Regions from separate parts of the Homo sapiens genome. Here all the other regions are linked to region 5. Evidence: promoter capture Hi-C in 16 types of primary human blood cells and fetal thymus (Javierre and others, 2016). All regions are on one chromosome and are shown on one strand. The core of a region is centred on a gene start or on the middle of the fragment in contact, and the rest is flanking DNA. Distances in the headings are between cores, read along the strand shown.

Region 1 (2,700 bases), core at 73-2,572, 310 kb before region 5:
TTCTCTCACAGAAGTAAAACTACTTGTGGAGAATTGTCTGCTGAATTTCAGCCTCTGGAGTGCAGTGGCATGATCTCGGCTCACTGCAACCTCCACCTCCTAGGTTCAAGCGATTGTCCTGCCTCAGCCTACTGAGTAGCTGGGACTACAGGTGCACGCCACCACGCCTACATAAGTTTTGTATTTTTAGTAGAGATGGGGTTTTGCTATGTGGGCCAGGCTGGCCTCAAACTCCTGGACTCAAGTGATCCGCCTGCCTGAGCCTCCCGAAGTGCTGAGATTACAGGCGTGAGCCACCGCGTCCGGCCTCCATATAAATTTTAGATTCAGCTTTTAAAATTCCACAAAATGCCCTATGGGTATTTTGATGGGGATTTTATTGAATCTATAGATTGGTTTGAAGAGAATCCACATCTTTAATGTCTTTCACATTATGATAGAGTTTTGTGGCGATGGTTGTCTATTCATGGTAATCTCTTTCAGTGGAGCGTGAGGCTCTCCAGGGCATAGACTTTCTCGGAATCTAGCACAGGCCAGGCATGTAATGAGACACTCAATAAAAGCTTGTTTTGCTGAATTGAAATTATTTGACTCGAACCCTCCATCTTTTTTAGTTCTCTTAATATCTCTGGGGGATTCTTTCTAGACCAGTATGTAAGTACCAAGGAATCGTGGATGGCAGATTACTGTAAAGATGACAAGGACATAGAGTCAGCTAAATCAGAAGACTGGATGGGCTCTTCGGTGGATCCTCCATGTTTTGGACAAAGTAAGAGTTTTCACTACATGTGTTTAACTAAATCACTTTTGACCTACAAAGCAATGCTTCACTGAGAAATTCAAATGGAACCATCATTCTGCGTGGAAAAACCTACAGGAAATTCTGACTATCTTCTGTAGTTCTGTTTTAGTCTTTGCAGGAGACAGTTTTCTGGCATGAACTACTGAACTTATAAATGTGGGCTGTAATTCCACCTTTGCGGGGGAGAAAAGATCTGCAACACGTAATTCCTAAATCCTGGTAATAATGCATATGAACTGGTGCACCTGAGAATGCATCAGGATCAGCTGTGGTTTGTGTTTTACTCTGCAAAACATTGGTTTTCTAATTGATCGGATTTTTTTGGCCAGATTTTTAAAAGCATCTAAAATGGTCTTCTAAATCTAGAGATAGAGGGTTTGGACATATTCTTGAAAAGAGGGCGAGCAGGAGCCCATGTGGAAAAAGTTGTTAAAAAGGGAGCCCTGTGCTGTTCATAGAGTATAAAAGAATTGAATGCCCTGCCTCTTGAAGAAAGAGGAGTCAGCTTGCTCTCTATTGATGATGCTTTCTTTCCTTATTTAATGCCTCGCCAGCTCTGTTTTCCTCAGAGCTGGGGAGATGGTGATGGACAACTGCATGGTCTTAGTTGTTCCACAAGCCATTGTCATCCAAATTCAACTCAGCTCCAACTCTTACAATGTGGTTTCTTTGGGGAGTCTTGGCTGGACTTCACATAGCTCATGAATACTTAAATATTCCATCTGGTCTGCAAACGTGTCATGGGAAGATTGGGTGTTCTTAGTGTGTGAAGTAATTGTACTGGTTCATCTCTCCTCAGGGTGAATAAGTGGACTTTCTGTCTGCCTTGTACTTCTAGAAAGAGACACAAAGAAATGTCAGCTGTGCTTGTTCTCTGTTTTCCCAGGCTGTTGCTTCTGAGTCTCAAGGTCATTACTTAGGAGCCAGGGCTTTTCAGATATTGTCAGCTTTGATTTTAGCTCCTCCTCCAACCTTCCCAATTTGTGTGTCAAGAAAATGTAACATAGTCTACCCAGAAGACTCTAAATAATCTTTGTAATATGTCCAAGAGAGTGTGTTTCTAAAACATTATTCATGCAGGGGCATCTTCAATTCAGAGTCAAACTCTAGCAAGGCCTGGTCTGCAAGATTCTGATGAAAGATTTTCTTGTCCCTCTCTTTCTTCTTTCCTTCTTCCCTCCCTGCCTCCCTTTCTTCCTTCCTTTTTAAAATTTTTGTCCCTCTCTCTTTCTCTATAGTTAAAAGGCTTCCTCATCTATATTAAATGCTGGTGCTGAGTTAAAGCTTGATTTTTATTTATTTAAAGATTTTTATGATTACTTAGGCTTATAAAAGTGTAATCTATCTTTTTAATAAGACATAACTTGAATATGCATAAATTTCCAAACCTCTTTTCTTATTGGAAATTCCTGGATGGTAGTACAGTACATTCCAGGATTGTATTCTTTTAGCAGGCCTACTAAAATGATCATTGGGAATTTATTTTGAAAGTGAGTAGGGTTCAACCTTGTTGAACTAATCATAAACTTTCAGGTCTTATTCAAGAATAGTAAGTCATATTCCTACAAAAGTTATGCTTTTTATTCAGACTGGCCTTAAAACAAGCTCTTGGGAATAGCCCTTAACATGAAATTTAGCCTAAGGGACCTGCTGCTTTCTCACTGTTTCTTTATCAGGGGAAAGAAAATACCAGCCTCCTTTTGACAAAATTGTTGGCTTTGTTCAGTCAGGGCTGAGATTTTGCAGGTAAACCTGGGCGGTGTGGCACTTCATTGAATTTATTAGTTTTGTATTCCAAGGACATTTTATGAAAATATCAAATATTCTGAAAACTTCCATGCTTGATTTAGAATTTAAATAAACACTATGAGACAACTCCTTGGTAGAGATTGTTTAAA
Region 2 (2,700 bases), core at 94-2,593, 350 kb before region 5:
CAGCACCTGGCCAGCATTCTCTCTAATGGGACTTTGTAAGTTAAAATTCTTAGTTGAATACAAGTGATCAACTACATCAGGTTCTAAATAGTAGGATTTTAAAAAAATAATATTTTAACTTATTTTTTTAAACTATAGAGACAGGGTTTCGCCATGTTGGCCAGACTGGTTTCAAACTCCTGGACTCAAACCATCCATCCACTTTGGCCTCCCAAAGTGCTGGGATTACAGGCGTGAGCCACCGTACCCAGCCTTTAGTAGAGATTTATGAAATGTGAAGTAAAACATTTTTCCTTTCCTAATTATCAAAGATTACAAAGCTCATGTTGATGCTGTAGTAAAAACAAGAATGTCTTTTGGGGAAGGAATGAACTGAGGCTGAGGTTTCATGCCTTGTGCAATTATTTTAGAAAAGCTTCTTAGAGGAGATTGGCTTTTTTTTTTTTTTCCTTCTTACAGCGTATTCCTGTTAATGGCCTTTAAGATTGGTAAAAGCTTGGTTATTTTTGTTAGAAGACATTAGGTATCTAAAATAAGTATGTGGCTGGGCACGGTGGCTCACGCCTGTAATCCTAGCACTTTGGGAGGCTGAGGTCAGGAGTTTGAGACAAGCCTGGGCAACATAGTGAGACCTCATCTCTACAAAAATAGTAAAAATTAACCAGTTGTGATGGCCAGTGCCTGTAGTCCCAGCGACTCAGGAGGCTGAGGTGGTTGGATTGCTTGAGCCTGGAAGGTCAAGGCTGCAGTGAGCCATGATTGTGCCACTGCACTGTAGCCTGGGCGACAGAGTGAGACCCTGTCTCAAAAAATAAAAAAAAAAATTGTGTTTTCAATTCATTGGGAGCTGAACTAGCATGCCAAATATACCTTAGTAATTGTTTTATCACGATAATTATGATAATAAATTTTGTTTTACAGAGGCAACGGTTCAGAATATTCCTTTTTAGTATCCATACAGTGTTAATAATGACTCATTATAGATTCACATTCTAGTCGTACATGTTTCAGTCACGTCTTCTTTCTTCTTTCCACCTTCCAGAAACTTCACTCATATATCAGAGTAGTTTCAAATCTGTGTCTCCAGTGCCTATCTACCTCATTAATTTTGGTCTTTCATTAAATCATACTAAAACATGCTTAATGTTGCTTGAATACCTAACATGTTTCTGACACGTCCTCCTTTATTCTTTTATCCAGAGTATAATTAATAGACCTAATGATGTTTATTTCTAGTTAGTGGTCTCATCTCAGAAAGCATCAAGTTTCTGTCTGTATTTATAAAGGTTTTATCCTTTAAATATGTAATGTTGCCGGGCGCGGTGGCTCACACCTGTAATCCTAGCATTTTGGGAGGCCAAGGCGGGCGGATCATGAGGTCAGGAGATCGAGACCATCCTGGCTAACACGGTGAAACCCCGTCTCTACTAAAAATACAGAAAATTAGTCAGGCATGGTGGTGGGCACCTGTAGTCCCAGCTACTCGGCGGGGCTGAGGCAGGAGAATGGCGTGAACCCGGGAGGCAGAACTTGCAGTGACCCCAGATCGCGCCACTGTACTCCAGCCTGGGCGACAGAGCTAGACTCTGTCTAAAAAAAAAAAAAAAATGTAATGTTGCTGTATTATTTCAGTCCCCTTTGGACTTCTGCATTGAGACTTTTTTTTTCCTTTTTTGCATTGAGACTTTGTTTTAAATATTGCATAAAATATTTTTTGGGGTATATTGGAATATGAAAATTTGCTTTTGAGGTTTGATTACAAAGTGAAAAGTCTGAGGCATGTGTATACCAGCTTTTGTTCCAGACATATTTAAGTTGTGTGACAAAAAAGGATACATAGTAATGTGTTCTAACTTTATCATCCCTAGAGGGAGACCTGGCCTTACAGGGCAGCATTGGGAGTCTGTCTCTAAGTGACCTCACATGCCATGGAGAGTTCTACAGAGAACGGTTCACTACCAGTGGTGAAGAAGCACTCATCTTCCAGACTTTTAAGTAAAAATGTCAATCTTTTTCTGACTTGATATTTTATCATAATACTTGCTGTTTCAGATTCTTGTTGGCTAGACAATAAAGAAAACTTTTAAAAATTTTTACCTTCTTAGAGGTGAAATTGAGAAGTTATGGTTATGAGGAGTTCTTCCTGACTTTAAATTTCATTAAAATGGATCTGTGTTGAAGTGGGCTACTTAAAGCTTCATAAACAGATGGGGTATGAGTTAGGTGCGGTGGGTCATGCCTGTAATCTAAGCTCTTTGGGAGGCCAAGGCAGATGGATTGCTTAAAGCCAGGAGTTCGAGACCACCCTTGGCAACATAGACACTGTCTCTATAGAAGAAAAAAGCCGTCTGTGTGTGGTGGTATGCAACTGTAGTTCTAGCTACTTGAGAGGCTGAGGTGGGAGGATCCCTTAATCCCAGGAGTTGGAGGCTGCAGTGAGCCATGACTGTGCTACTGCACTCCAGCCTGGGTGATGGAGGGGGGCCTTGTCTCAACACACACACGCACACCCACCCCAGATAGGGTATGATTGAATATTTCTGATTATTAAAAGCCCTGGGCTCTCTTGCTGGTTTTCCACGAACTTGGTGTATGTCCTGAGACAAGTCATGCAGTCTTCGTGCATCAGTTTTTCTATATATTAAGGGGACTGAATCATTAGAACATTTCTGAGCTTCCATGTAGCTCTAAAAGTTCTGG
Region 3 (2,700 bases), core at 32-2,531, 280 kb before region 5:
TTTATCAGGGGTTTCCCAGGGCAATATAAGATGTGAAGGGGGAAAGAAGCCCACCTTTTTCCAAAGATTGAGTGTCTGTATTGTTCAGAGTACCCTAGACTCTTTTTATAATATTAAATTAGATACATCTTTTGTAGTTAGACTTTTTATTAGATATCACCTAACTATGATAATGTTGATTTCTGACAATGAAAGCTTCTCTGCATGTCACAGAAAGAAGTGATAGGGTATAGTTCCATATCCCAATATTACATAGCATTTCTTAGATACAGAGTTTTAGAGAGATTTTTGTGTGTGACTTTTCTCAGTCTTTCAGGTATTTTCAAGGCTTGTGTTAAAGGAACATCAGCATTTTCAAGCCAGTTTAAGTGAATTACGGCATTTACAGATTGGAATATTTATAATTGGGATTGTGTTGAGAAATCTATGACAGCCGGTTGTCAAATGCTAAGGTGGAGTTTTCTATTTTAATGGTTCTCTTGATACTTGATGACTGCTGAATGGAGTGCAGTCCTTGTATATGTCGCATCACAATACAAGCAAGCCTGATGAGGGTGCTGCTCCGGAGGCTGACTGCCTGGACTTGAATCCCAGTTATGGCACATACTAGCTGCGTGACATAGAGTCAGTTACTTAGCTTTCCATGCCTTCGTTTCCTCATCTATAAAATGGAAATAATTAAAATATCTAACTTAGAAGGTTGTTATGGGGATTCAGTGTAAAGCCTTTGGGGGAGGACCTAGCATGTATTAAGAGACCAGTAATTATTATTATTGTTGTTGTTGTTGTTATTTTTATTATTTCTATGATAAATATTTTTATCAATGGGTGACCAGAGCTCAGCCCAGTACGTTGAATGTCATTGCTGTATTTATTGTCTGAATGAATGAGTGAATAAATTCATCCCACTGAATTTTTTATTTTTATTTTTATTTATTTATTTATTTATTTATTTATTTATTTTTTTTTTGAGACGGAGTCTCGCTCTGTCGCCCAGGCTGGAGTGCAGTGGCGGGATCTCGGCTCACTGCAAGCTCCGCCTCCCGGGTCCACGCCATTCTCCTGCCTCAGCCTCCCAAGTAGCTGGGACTACAGGCGCCCGCCACTACGCCCGGCTAATTTTTTGTATTTTTAGTAGAGACGGGGTTTCACCGTTTTAGCCGGGATGGTCTCGATCTCCTGACCTCGTGATCCGCCCGCCTCGGCCTCCCAAAGTGCTGGGATTACAGGCGTGAGCCACCACGCCCGGCCTGAATTTTTTATTTTTAAAAATTGTTATCAGAGTTTTTAAGATATTTCAGTGCTTTTCTATATTTGGAACCGGCTGTCTTGAGATTTCCTTTGGACTGTTTTCTTATTTTTTCCTAATACATAGTAGGCGCTGAAAACAGTAATTTTATAGATGAATAAATTCTTTTATTTATTTATTTTTTGAGACGGAGTCTCACACTGTCACCCAGACTAGAGTGTAATGGTGCAATCTTGGCTCATTGCAACCTCTGCCTCCCAAGTTCAAGCAATTCTCTTTCTTGCCTCAGCCTCCCGAGTAGCTGAGACTACAGGTGCGTGCCACCATGCCCAGCTAATTTTTGTATTTTTAGTAGAGATGGGGTTTCGCCATGTTGGCCAGGCTGGTCTTGAACTCCTGACCTCAAATGATCCACCCATCTCGGCCTCCCAAAGTGCTGGGATTACAGGCATGAGCCACCACACCCGGCCATGAATAAGTTCTATAGTACTTAGCATTATGTTTGAGCTGGATTCTTGGGCAATGGGCTAAAATAAAATACTGGAGAAGAGTCAGTAAAGTTTAGAACATTACAGAATCCAAGAAAGTAATCTGAAATTTCCACTGTATCTGTAAAAGTGGCAGGTTCTCTAGAAGGAAATTTTGTGTCCCAGGTGTAAGCCAAAAAGTATCATGTGAAACTGTTGTAAGTATTCAGCTTCATAAATGGAAACCTAACATATATGTGACTGGACACCTGTGTATTTTAGTTGCTGTTAAATGGTACACACTGTGTGAAGAAACTAGGAATTAAGGGGATGTTGATCTTGCCTCTGAACCTTTTTAAGGCCTAAATGGGAATAAGGAGTAATAATACTTTGAGTACAATTGCTGTTTTCATTACATTCCTAGAAGGTTCAATATCCTCTGGGTGATACAGTTATTTTCTCAGAGAAACTAAGTAACTGTGAAGGTTATTTATTTTTGTCAGACCAAGAGTTTTCTCTCTTCATGGTTAACTCATAAAAGTGGTTCTTGTTATTTGTAGGTATTGATGTCAAGAAAGGCCGAGGTCGATACATTGATACCTGCATGGTCATCTTTGCCCCCCGTTACCTGTTAGATAATAAATCATCTCACAAGCTTGCATTTGCACAGAGGGAATTTGCCAGGGGACAGGTGAGCAGTTTGCTTTTGAAGGATGAGAGTGCCTATTTAATAGCACGAGTTTTAATGTCATCTTCTGTGAAGACTGTACGTTCTGTGATGCAAGTAACTGCTCTGTGCCTTTGGTACCCAGATAGCTCCTGTTAGAGGGTAAGGCTCAGAGTAGGTACTCAGTAACACTTATTGTCATGAATCGACTTGTTGACTAAAGCCTGTGATCCTATGTGTTTTAGGGAACAGCCAATCCCGAAGGTTACATTTCCACCCTTCCTGGTTCCAGTGTGGTGTTCCACTGGCCTCGGAAT
Region 4 (2,700 bases), core at 30-2,529, 260 kb before region 5:
AAAGTAAAAATGTATATTTTTTTCAATGACAAAAACCTGTCATATTCCCAAATATGAGTATTGGGCTTTCCCTTTAAATATTTTAAGCTTTGATGAAATACCCATGCAGATGTTAAGAAACTTCAAACAATAAAATGGGTATAATGTGAAAAGTGATTATTTCTTCCACCCAAATTCCAGTCCGTCCTTATTCTGAGGAAGTAGTTTCTTTTTTACATCTTCCTAATAACTTTGTCAAATCCTTCAAAAGCAGAAATTAATTATTAAGAGAATAATCAGATGTATTTTTATGAATAAATCCTTGGATTCAAATTAGCTCTTTAAGTTTGAATAAGTTACTTGATTTGCCTGTGCCTTAGTTTCTCCATAAAAATCAGTGTGTTTTCAGTTAATACCTTATTTCCAGAAAAACTTTAGTTGACTTACAAGTTAGAACAGAAAAGAATTTAGAAATACAACAGAAAAAAGACTGTTGGAAAGATTTTACATGTATTTAGCAGCTATTCCTTCCATACTGCATGGTAAGTTGCCGTTTTGAGAATGCAAGAAGCCATATTACTGTGTGTTATGAAATCTTTAATGTCTTACTTTGTGTCCCCTCTTCATGTTTTTCCATTTTGCTTTATTCCTCTTTTCTTATCAAGAGATACCTAACTGCCCTAGGATTCAAGCTAACTACCCATTCAGTTTTAAGGGTGGAGGGCATTAGAAGGAAGAAGAGCAAAGCCATCATCCTCATGTTCCCTTCAGGCGTGAAACAGTTGACTCGGAGGTTTCATGGTTCATTGTGTATTCCGTTTTCCAGATACGAGCCACTGATGCTGAGAAAGCCTGACCGCAGGCGAAGCACAACTCAGACGTGGAGTTTCCGAGAAGGAAAACTGACCTGTGGGTTACATGGGTTGGTCGTCCAGGTCAGTCGTTTTTGATCCCCAATTGCAGCAAGCAGTGGTTGAGCCTTCTTTGAAACAAAGTCTCTACTAAGTTATACATGATGAATTGTTCAGTGGGAAAACTAGTTACAGAGCAATACTTATTCTATTCCATTTTAGTTAAAAGGAAGTCAGAGTTTTGTTGTGCATTTGTGTATTTTTTTTTTTTTTTGAGGTGGAGTCTTGCTCTGTCGCTCAGGCTGGAGTGCAGTGGCACAATCTCGGCTCACTGCAAGCTCCGCCTCCCGGGTTCACGCCATTCTCCTTCCTCAGCCTCCCGAGTAGCTGGGACTACAGGTGCCCGCCACCACGCCCGGCTAATTTTTTGTATTTTTTAGTAGAGATGGAGTTTCACCATGTTAGCCAGGATGGTCTCGATCTCCTAACCTCGTTATCCACCCGCCTTGGCCTCCCAAAGTGCTGGGATTACAGGCGTGAGCCACCGCGCCCAGCCCCGCATTTGTGTATGTTTACATGGGAAAAGTTCTTGGAGATGGTATGCAATACATGTGTTAAGAGTGATTGCCCTGGATGATAAGATATGTTTTTCATGGCTTACCTGGACTTTTTCTTTGATGTCATATATTACCAATGTAATTTTAAAAAGAAAAAAATTACCTATGTAATTTTAAAAAGAAAAAAATTACCTATGTAATTTTAAAAGTCCAGCACTAAGTTAGATGAATTAGATTTAGACCTGGGAAGTTAATGGCATAGCTGCAAGTCCTCTGTAAAGGGTTCTATGACATGGTGAGCATTCGCCAGGCATCTACATGCTCTTGATTCTGTTCATTTTGGCCTAAATAAGCATTGAATTGCTGTAGCAAATGTCAGAATGAAGATTGCTGGACAGTTTCCTCCTCAGCCAGTCTACCTCATGATAAACTCCCAGCTACTTTCTAAGCAAATATGTGTTTGGCAAATTACCAAGGGTTTGGATTTTCTGCCCTTTCTGGCTTCAGGCTGGGAATGAGAACAGGGGTCTGAGAAGTAGGAAGGTGTCTAGGAGGTTTGGACATGCAGTAGACTAGCACCTGCAATTGTGTGTGCAGTTCTGTCCAGCCTGGGATTTTACACAAAAGGGAAACAGGAGACTATCAGACTCTTGATAGAGAACTCTGAGTGTACTTAGATTGTACTCCAGGGCAGTTTGCAAAAACTGTAAGGAGCCTCTGACTGCTTTTGGTGAGATTTATTTTCTTTATCTCTATCGCCCTGAGCTTTTTTCATCAAAGACAAGCTGCTTACTTATATGTAGCACACATCTGGAATGGATTTGTGATTTTCAATTAGCAATACAATTCAAACTTCTAGAGGCAAAGAGGGCTTGTTATAATTGGTGGGTTTCATGTCTGACCCTGACTTCACTTCTAGTTTGTTTCTAAAGCCCATGTAATTCCAATGCTCTTGGAGCATTTTCTTCCTTAAAATCTTTTTTTGGTGTTTGTTGTTTTGTGAATCTATTTCATCATTTCCCTGCTTGTTAGTGACAGTATAATAACAGTATTCAGCAGAGCAGAATGTGTTTTGGTTAGGGAAGTAAGCTTGTTTCAATCTTATTATGCTGAATAAAGTCATTGAAGACATTAAAACATTTTCTGACACTGCTCTTATTAGGTTGTATATGCTCTTTCTTTCTAAACTTATAATAGCTATAAAAAGCTTTCTTTGTGTTGAAACCTGTACTATAAACCCTGCTCAAAGTTTGCTTTTCATGAGTCAATATTTAAAAGTTAACAAAGGGGATTTAGACACTCTTTGCCATTGT
Region 5 (2,700 bases), core at 57-2,556:
ACTCCAGCCTGGGTGACAGAGCGAGACTCCATCTCAAAAAAAAAAACAAAAAACAAACAAACAAACAACAACGACAAAAGATAATTACACCTAGCCAGAATAGTGAATCTTATAACCCTCTAAGAGAAACCTAAGTAAACTCTTACAAAGATACAATGACGTAAAAACACAAAAATCTGCCATGCATATACTCACTGGGGTAAAGCCTCTTCTATAACTTTTGTTTTCTGAAACAAACCAAACAAACAAACAAAAAACCAAAAACCTAAAACATAAATAATAGGAATGAAAAAGGGGGTCTGCCTTCTAGTTCCAAGCTCCTGCAGCACTCGGAGGTTAATAACTTTCCCTTCCAGTCCCCTTGGGTGGTTTCACTTCAGAGTGCCTCCAGTAAAACACCTCCCTGTGAATAAATGGCTTTCCCTAGCACCCAAGGGAGCAGATTTTCAGCAAATTTGTTGAGTGTGTGTGTCAAGAGGAAGACACCAGTGAGTCCCCCTGGTGTAGCAGTTGAGCAACTTCTTTGCCAGTTCAGCAAATTCACACTATGCCCTTTCCAACAAGAGCTGGGTCTCATCCCTATGGGTGGAAACGGGGTCTTTCTTGGGTGCTCTATTTAAGCCCTAAGGGTAGTGGTATTTTCTTATATGTATAGTTTCTATATTCTCCCTTTTTTTTTTTTTTTTTTTTTTTTTTGAGACAGAGTCTCGTTCTGTTGCCCAGGCTGGAGTGCAGTAGTGCGATCTCGGCTCACTGCAACCTCCAGCTCCCAGGTTCAAGCGATTCTCCAGCTTCAGCCTCCCGAGTAGCTGGGATTACAGGCATGTGCCACCATGCCCGGCTAATTTTTGTAGTTTTGGTAGAGAGGGGGTTTCACCCTGTTGGCCAGGCTGGTCTTGAACTCCTGGCCTCAAGTGATCCTCCCAGCTCAGCCTCCCAAAGTGCTGAGATTACAGGTGGGATTACCACCGTGCTCGGCCCAAATTAAAATTTCTAAAATTTTCAGGCTCAAAGCCTATTTCCTGAAATGGTTCCAATCATTTCTTTCTCTCTTAGAAGAAAGTAACGTGGATAAAAATTGTCCCCAAACCAGCCCTTGGCACCATTTTTAGAGGCGGAATATGAGGCTGGATAAAGCCCAGTTTTGCCTGCAATGGCATTCCTGTCTCCCGTCCCAGGACCCCAGAAGATTATGACTACCAGAAAACACGCCAGTCTTTGCCCTGATCTGGCCAGAGGCCCAGAGGGTACATAGGCGGTGACAGAGTGAGACCTTGTTTCAAAAAACAAAACAAAACTGGGGTTAGGGAAGCTAGCTAGGGAGCTGGGGTGAGACGTGCTGTGCTCACCCTAACCACACTCTGACAAGGAAAGCTGGCGAAGTCTCTTATCTTACAGTTGAAAGATCAGGCCCTGGAGGCCTATATAACCCATATGAGATCTCTTTCTAGGGTTCCCAGGAGCCGAGGTGCCCATCTGAGCCTGATCTTCCTGAAATCTTTGGGAAGCTCACCTTCCAAGACTCCCCATGATGAGCAGTATTGATTTTTCTGGGTCCCCACATTGCTTAGGGAAATAGGTTCCTCCACCTCCCATTGGCCTTTTTGTGCTTACCCTGAGAAGCTGTGTCAGGCCACTGTGTCAGGTGTCAGGCTTAGCCCAGAGAGAGTGAGGTGGAGGAGGCGGAGGGTGTAACCCAGCCAGGTCCTCTTCACATAAGCTATCAGACAAGCTCCTCAGGGCAGCAGCTCCTCAAGGCCCCAGGAACATGGCTGTCCCCTGGCTAGTGCTACTCTTGGCATTGCCCATCTTTTTCCTGGGGGTCTTTGTCTGGGCTGTCTTTGAGCACTTCCTCACCACGGATATCCCTGCTACCTTGCAGCATCCTGCCAAGTTGAGATTCCTGCATTGCATATTCCTCTACCTGGTCACTTTGGTGAGTTTACTCTCAGGCCACGTCGTAACCTGGGGGCTTCTTCTCTTGTTCTCAGTACCTTACCCTCTTTTCCCTCTTTCACTTCCCTTCTGTCTCTCTCTCTTCGGACTCCCTCAAGATAGACTTGTCTCTTCTGTATCTGCTATTCTGTTTGCCTCTCTCTTCCCTCCCTCCGTTCCTTCCCCCTTCCCATAGCCTGCCTGCCTTTCTTCCTCTCTCCCTCCCTTCCTTCCCTCCTTCTCTCCCTCCTTTCCTTTCTTTTTTCCTTCTTTCCTTCCCTCCTTCCCTCTCCTTCCTCCTTCCCTCATTCTCTCCCTTCCTCCCTATCTCCTTCATTCCCTCCCTCCCTTCCTTCCTTCCCTCCTTCTCCGCTCCTTTCCTTCCTTTTTCCTTCTTTCTTTCTCTCCCTCCCTCCTTCCTTCCTCCTTCCCTCCTTCCTTCATTCTCTCTCTTCCTATCTCCTTCCTTCCCTCCCTCCTTCCTTTCTTCTTTCCCTTCTTCCTTCCTCCCTATCTCCTTTCTTCCTTCCCTCCTCCCTCCCTCCCTCCCTCCCTCCCTTCCTTCCTTGTTTCCTTCCTACCTTCCTTCCTTCCCTCCTTTTGTTCCGTTCTTCCTTCCTCTCTCCTGCTCTCTCTAACTCCCTTCCTTTCTTCCTTTAGCATCAAACATTTACCGAGTGCCAATCACTGGGCTCTTTTCTGAGAATTCAAAAACAATTTCAGACCCAGTTCCTGCCTTCCCCGGGCTTGTGGCCTGACAGCCCC

Evidence for each region. The method cuts DNA at HindIII sites, captures the fragments that hold promoters and counts their contacts. A CHiCAGO score of 5 or more calls a contact.
Region 1: a fragment that was not itself captured here is called in contact with the fragment with the promoter of AADACL4 in region 5 in 16 of 17 cell types (naive CD4 T cells, non-activated CD4 T cells, naive CD8 T cells and 13 more); the score reaches 23.1 in naive CD4 T cells.
Region 2: a contact is called between a fragment that was not itself captured here and the fragment with the promoter of AADACL4 in region 5, in 16 of 17 cell types (naive CD4 T cells, activated CD4 T cells, non-activated CD4 T cells and 13 more). The highest score is 18.7, in naive CD4 T cells.
Region 3: a fragment that was not itself captured here is called in contact with the fragment with the promoter of AADACL4 in region 5 in 13 of 17 cell types (non-activated CD4 T cells, activated CD4 T cells, naive CD8 T cells and 10 more); the score reaches 12.2 in non-activated CD4 T cells.
Region 4: a fragment that was not itself captured here is called in contact with the fragment with the promoter of AADACL4 in region 5 in 16 of 17 cell types (total CD8 T cells, M1 macrophages, M2 macrophages and 13 more); the score reaches 14.3 in total CD8 T cells.

The regions. Positions count from the first base shown.
Region 1 is chr1:12,335,059-12,337,758 of GRCh38, forward strand. VPS13D (vacuolar protein sorting 13 homolog D) reads left to right here. Exons shown (of 70, transcript NM_015378.4): 39 at 647-769. Among named protein-coding and RNA genes, the nearest start is that of VPS13D, 110 kb to the left of the region's middle. The HindIII fragment of the contact is 1,523 bases long and covers 562-2,084 here.
Region 2 is chr1:12,289,130-12,291,829 of GRCh38, forward strand. VPS13D (vacuolar protein sorting 13 homolog D) reads left to right here. Exons shown (of 70, transcript NM_015378.4): 23 at 1,869-1,995. Among named protein-coding and RNA genes, the nearest start is that of VPS13D, 60 kb to the left of the region's middle. The HindIII fragment of the contact is 1,700 bases long and covers 494-2,193 here.
Region 3 is chr1:12,360,444-12,363,143 of GRCh38, forward strand. It overlaps VPS13D (vacuolar protein sorting 13 homolog D), which reads left to right. Exons shown (of 70, transcript NM_015378.4): 51 at 2,277-2,407; 52 at 2,629-2,700. The region is part of intron 1 of LOC124903845 (a long non-coding RNA gene); the gene reads right to left. Among named protein-coding and RNA genes, the nearest start is that of VPS13D, 130 kb to the left of the region's middle. The HindIII fragment of the contact is 2,176 bases long and covers 194-2,369 here.
Region 4 is chr1:12,378,683-12,381,382 of GRCh38, forward strand. It overlaps VPS13D (vacuolar protein sorting 13 homolog D), which reads left to right. Exons shown (of 70, transcript NM_015378.4): 57 at 806-914. Among named protein-coding and RNA genes, the nearest start is that of SNORA59A, 130 kb to the right of the region's middle. The HindIII fragment of the contact is 2,389 bases long and covers 86-2,474 here.
Region 5 is chr1:12,642,779-12,645,478 of GRCh38, forward strand. AADACL4 (arylacetamide deacetylase like 4) reads left to right here and starts at 1,307. Exons shown (of 4, transcript NM_001013630.2): 1 at 1,307-1,936. The coding sequence starts at 1,769. The HindIII fragment of the contact is 15,531 bases long and covers 1-2,700 here.